Linked DNA regions of Homo sapiens: region 2 is linked to region 1. The links are contacts of gene promoters, found by promoter capture Hi-C in human tissues and cell types (Jung and others, 2019). All regions are on one chromosome and are shown on one strand. Each heading gives the region's core, a stretch centred on a gene start or on the middle of the fragment in contact. The rest is flanking DNA. Distances are from core to core; before and after follow the strand shown. Region 1 holds the start of STRIP2 (striatin interacting protein 2). Region 2 overlaps NRF1 (nuclear respiratory factor 1).

The links. The method cuts DNA at HindIII sites, captures the fragments that hold promoters and counts their contacts. A contact is called where the count stands out against the background at its distance.
Region 2: a contact is called between a fragment that was not itself captured here and the fragment with the promoter of STRIP2 in region 1, in 2 of the 25 tissues and cell types used here (IMR-90 fibroblasts and thymus).

What each region holds. Positions count from the first base shown.
Region 1 is chr7:129,433,053-129,435,752 of GRCh38, forward strand. It overlaps STRIP2 (striatin interacting protein 2), which reads left to right and starts at 1,380. Exons shown (of 21, transcript NM_020704.3): 1 at 1,380-1,549. The coding sequence starts at 1,421. RefSeq lists a silencer at 1,260-1,739. The HindIII fragment of the contact is 3,182 bases long and covers 1-2,478 here.
Region 2 is chr7:129,623,302-129,626,097 of GRCh38, forward strand. All of the region lies in intron 1 of NRF1 (nuclear respiratory factor 1), which reads left to right. Among named protein-coding and RNA genes, the nearest start is that of NRF1, 13 kb to the left of the region's middle. The HindIII fragment of the contact is 7,216 bases long and covers 1-2,796 here.

The sequences.
Region 1 (2,700 bases), core at 130-2,629:
GTCCCTAAGGTATGGGAAGGTGGAGTAATTCCTCTAGGCCCTTTGCTTTGGGTATATCGTGGAAAATGTTAGGATTTTGGATCTAGGCAGAACTGGTTTGACACCAACACAACCTGAATGAGTTGAGGGCTAAAAGGAAAGCTTTGTGGAGGAGGAGGAGGTGACAACTAACTAGAATCTTTATGAGAGAAAAGGAATCAACCAGGAGAACAGAAGACAGTCTCCTCCAGAGAACAGCATAGGCAAGACCCTGAGACAAGATAGAATATGATACCTTGGAAACCGCAGGGAGGAATCTGCAAGTGCCGGTTTCTTCATCAGTAACATTGGATTCGTAAAAACACCCTGTCGGGGAGAGGTATGATGTGATATTTGGAAAGCGCTTACTGCAGTGCCTGGCACCAAGCTCAGTTCAACAATCCCCCAGACCCTTCCTAAAGCAACCAGGCTGGGGACAGCGATTTGGTCCCACCTGTTCCCCTGAGCCTACGTCTTTGGGGCTTCTATTACCAAGCCAGACTGTCTAAATATTTACTACAAGCTACTTTTTAAATTCAGGAGAGGGCAGATCAAACAGCCTCTTTTGCCCCCAGTAACAATGAGCCCTTAGGAAGCATCTAAGAGAGAGGAAGGAAAGAAAGGACTGGCGAGCAGGTGAGGGTGGGGGCTTGCTCTACCCTCAACATTTACACACCATGAGGAAGAGGCCCCCTACAGCAGAGAAGGGCAGATGACAGGAGCAGCCCTCGAGGGCACCACCAATTTCAGTGATGGAAAAACTCCCCCATCCCACCCTTAGACCTCCAGTCTCCCAGCCAAGCCCTAGCTCCGGGCGAGATGCGTTCTCTTCAGAAAAACGCTGAGAATTCTCAGCTTCCAGAGACAGCGAGTCCCTCGTTTCGGGCGATGTCCCTGGCCACCTGGCGGTGCCATCCCTCCCCTGAGACTAAGCGGGATATGGGACGTGTGCAGGAGCCGGGATATGGGGGGCCGGGTCGGTGGTAACAGGGAAACGGAGACTGCTGTGGAGCAGTAGGCGGAGACTAGAGCTCCGGAAAAGGTCGCTACAGGGACGGGGGTGAGAGCTGAGAGACACCGAGTGAGGAGCACAGAGATAACCCGCCTGATCTCAAGGCCCAGCTTTCGCGAGGTGTGGAGCCTGTAGCTAACCTAGGAGTCTCCGTCCGCCAGCAATGCCGCAGGACTAAAAAGATCCCCTCAAAAATCTCTTCATTGAGCCCCCACCTCCTCGAGTCCCGCTCCGGCCGGTCGAGCAGCCAATCGCCTCGCGGGGCGGGGTTGCGGCGAGCTGCCGTAACCAATAGAGGTGGAGGGGGCGGGGCCTGGCTCCCGGCGCGCGGCGGTAGGGTCGCCTCCGGCAAAGCGAGCTGAACCCTGAGGGGAGCCGCTGACCAGCAGCATGGAGGACCCCGCCGCGCCTGGGACCGGGGGCCCGCCCGCAAATGGCAATGGCAACGGCGGCGGCAAAGGGAAGCAGGCGGCGCCCAAGGGCCGCGAAGCGTTCCGAAGCCAGCGGCGGGAGTCAGAGGTGAGGAGCCCGGAAAGCTTCGGCTGGGGCCCGGAGACGCCCGCCGGCGGGAAGCGGCGGCTGAGGTGATTCGGCCTCGGCCCCGGAGCCCTCGGCGCGCTCGATCAGCCCCGCGCAGTGGGCGCCTGCGGGGTCCTAGCGGCTGAACTCTGGGCTCTTTGGCCCGGACCAGTGTCCGCCCGTCTCCTGCCGCGGGTTGGGGGCTTTCTAGCCCTCTGGCTTTCCCCCGCTGCGCGAAGATGAGCGCGGTATTGAGCGGACCAGATACTTTCCAAATATTTATCTCACTTAATCGCTGCAGCCCCCTGAAGCAGAAATTCCGATCCCAGTTTATAGACGGGGGAACAGGAGCGGAGAGGTTAAGTGACTGGCTTGAGGGGTGGGAGGCTGGAGCTCAGCCGCAGGAAAGCAGGATTGGCGAGTGGGGCAACCGCAGTCCCCCTCCCAGGCTGCCTGCGGCGGGCCCCTGGGCCAGCCGAGGGACTTCTGCCCGTTCCCTGCCCGTCCCCTTCCCCCCGTAAGTCTTAGGCCGTTTCGGGAGCGCCTTCCGCGGACATCAGGCCCCTGCCTGTGAGGGCTGAGCGAGACGGGATTCAGGCAGGGGCAGTCCTGGAGTGGCTATCTGGAGGGAGCAGTCGCAGGATACAGATAGGAGTGTGAATATTTCGATCTCTTCCTCCTCTCCTGAAAAAAGAAACCCTATCTATGAAGATGAAAGCGTTGAATTATTATCACTTCCCTATCCCCTCATTGAGGCAGTTCCCATCAGTTGGATCTGAGCGGGGATCAGAATAGACGACAAAATATCAGATGTGGCAGGGTCTGCAGATATCATCTGGTATAACCCTTTCATTTTACAGACCTAAAAAAAAGAGGAGTGACTTGCCCAAGATCAGACATCTGGCATAGTTGGTGGTCAAGAACACCAGACTTTGGAGTAGTCAGACCAGGTTTTGACTCCTAGCCCTATCATTTACTACCTGTGTGATTTTCGGCACATTACGGAACCTCTCTGAGCTCCAGTTTCTTCATCTGTAAGATGAGATTAACACTGCCTACCTCAGAAGGTTGTGATAAAGTCAAAATGAGATAATTGACTATAAAATGTTTGGCACAGTGCAGGCACAATGCATGTAATTAGTCAGTACATA
Region 2 (2,796 bases), core at 260-2,759, 190 kb after region 1:
CTTCTGAGTTACTCTAGTTGTCAGCACGTGAAGTATTAGTAGTAGCAATAGTATAATACAGTAGTGTTAAAAATACCTGTTTTTTTTTTTTTGCATTATCTCTAGGGAATTCAAAAGATTTTGTATAGATAAAATATAAATATTCAAAATGCTGTGTAATCCAACTCATACACTCAGTGAAATATGTGATATATATAATTCTAATTCTGTGTAAAGAATAACTGGAACTTTCTCAAAGGTATCTTTCTTAAAAAATTTATATGGTAGAATCCTATTTAGAGCTAGTAGTGTAACCCAATTTTCCTGCCTACTCATTTAATTCTGTTTTTAATCCCTCTGGTAACTGATTTGTTTTTGTTTTTATTTTTTATACAAAATGGAAAGCAAATCTAGGGTAAATCATTTCTTAGTGACTGCATTTAGTATCTAAACTAATGTCATTTTTTTCTCTTAAGTATAGTAAAGCCTGTAGAGGTGACGATGACAAAGTCCGACTTGTTTATTCTCTTCCCTTCTACTTTGAAAGATTAAGATCTTTTCCAAAAGAAGAACTTTTAGAATGTATGCTTCACAAGATTCTTAAATCAGTATCTTCCAGACATGGCGGGAGGTAGAGAATCTGAGAATAAAAAGTGCAAACTTTTTCTCTCTTAAACTTCTGTATCTGAAAGGTATGAAAGCAAGAGCTAATTCTCACTTGAGAATCCACCACAATGATTGCTTTCATTCTGAAGAAATCCATTTTGTAGCCAGATGGTATGGTATTTTCCATCCGAGAATACAGAACCTGTGGATATGGAGGCCCAGCTGAAAGGGACATGAGCATCTGTGGATTTTGATTCACCCCCAGATACCAAAGGATGACTAAATCCATCAGGTCTCTGCTCAAACATCATTTCCTTAGGGAAGTTTTACCTGGTCTCCCTCTTTTTTGCGTTTTTCCTTCATCATAGGTGGTCATATATATATAATTTTACATTTGTTTGCATATTGCTTGATATATGTCTGTTCCACCAGATTGTAAGCTTCGTGAGAGTAGATACTGTGTTGGTGTTCATTACCAAGCACAGTGCCTGAGACATAGCAAGCAGTATTTATTTGAATGATTGTAGAAACCTGGCGAAACTCATTTGTAATATTTTACTTTACTTAGGCTTTTGTGGTACTATCTAACATTTTATAATTTTAGGAACTCAGGATGGGAAGAGATTCTAAATCATCTAAGAAAGCTCTGCTCTCCAAAGTTAAAAGTCTTCAGTCTCTTCTTGAACACATCCAGTGATAGGAAACGTAACCACCTACCAAAAGTCTGGTTGGTCTTTAAGATATTTGGATGGTTGGAAAGTTTTCCCAACTGAAATTTCTCCCTGAGCCTTTTTATTATTATTATTATTTTTTGGAGACAACGTCTCTGTGTTGCCCAGGCTGCTCTCAGACTCCTGTGCTGAAGGGATCCTCCTGCCTCAGTCTCCCAAGTGGTATCCCTAAAATTTTTACCTACTGATTTTACTCTGTTCTCTAGGGCTTGCAAAAGCAAGTATAGTTTTCATTTTCCTTATTGTCCGAGTCGTCCCTATTTTAGTTTACATATCCCTAGATCCTTCAACCTTGGGAAGGCAATAGGGAATGCTGGAGAGAGAGAGTTTGTGGACTGCATTCGTTTCCTGGGGCTGCCATAAAACCACAAACTTAGTGGTTTCAAGAAACAGAAATGTATTCTCTCACAGTTCTGGAGGCTAGGAGTCTGGAATCAAGGTGTTCACAGGGTGGCGCTCCCTCAGGAGACTCTGGGGGAGAATCTGTTCTTTGTCTCTTCCAGCCTTTGGTGGCATTCCTTGACTTGTGGCTACATCACTCCAGTTTCTGCCTCCATGGTCTCATTGTCTCCTCTCCGTGTAATCTCTATCTGCTTCACCCTTAAAAGGACACTTGTCACTGGATTTAGAACCCACCTAGATATTTCAGGATGATCTCAAGATCCTTAGTTACATCTCTAAGGACGCTTTCTTCAAGTGAGGTAGTATTCACAGGTGCCAATGGTAAGCATGTGAACATATCTTTTTGGGAGCCACAGTCCAACCCACTATAGGAGCTCTGGGCTTAAATTCTGTTAATGTCACTTACTAAGTTTGCAACCTTGAGCATGTTATTTAACTTTTCTGAGTCTGAATCATCTTAATTTTATTTATTTATTTATTTTTAAATTTATTAGTTTTTTAGAAACAGTCTCTTTCTGTCTCCCCAACTGGAGTGCAGTGGCTCAGTCATGGCTCACTGTTGCCTTAAACTCCTGGGCTCGGGCAGTCTTCCTGTGTTAGCCTCCTGAGTAGCTGGGACTGCAGGCATGTGCCACCATGCCCGGCTAATGTTTTAATTTTTTTTTTTTTTTTTTTTTTTTGAGACGGAGTCTCGCTCTGTTGCCCAGGCTGGAGTGCAGTGGTGCGATCTCAGCTCACTGCAAGCTCTGCCTCCCGGGTTCACGCCATTCTCCTGCCTCAGCCTCCCGAGTAGCTGGGACGTCGGGTGCCTGCCACCACACCTGGCTAATTTTTTGGTATTTTTAGTAGAGATGGGGTTTCACCATGTTAGCCAGGATGGTCTTGATTTTCCGACCTTGTGATCCACCCGCCTTGGCCTCCCAAAGTGCTGGGATTACAAGCATGAGCCACCACACCCAGCCCCATGTTTTAATTTTTGTTTTAGAGACAGGGTCTTACTGTGTTGGCCAGGCTGGTCTCAAACACCTGGCTTCAAGTGATCCTCCCACCTTGGCCTGCCACAGTGCTGGGATTACAG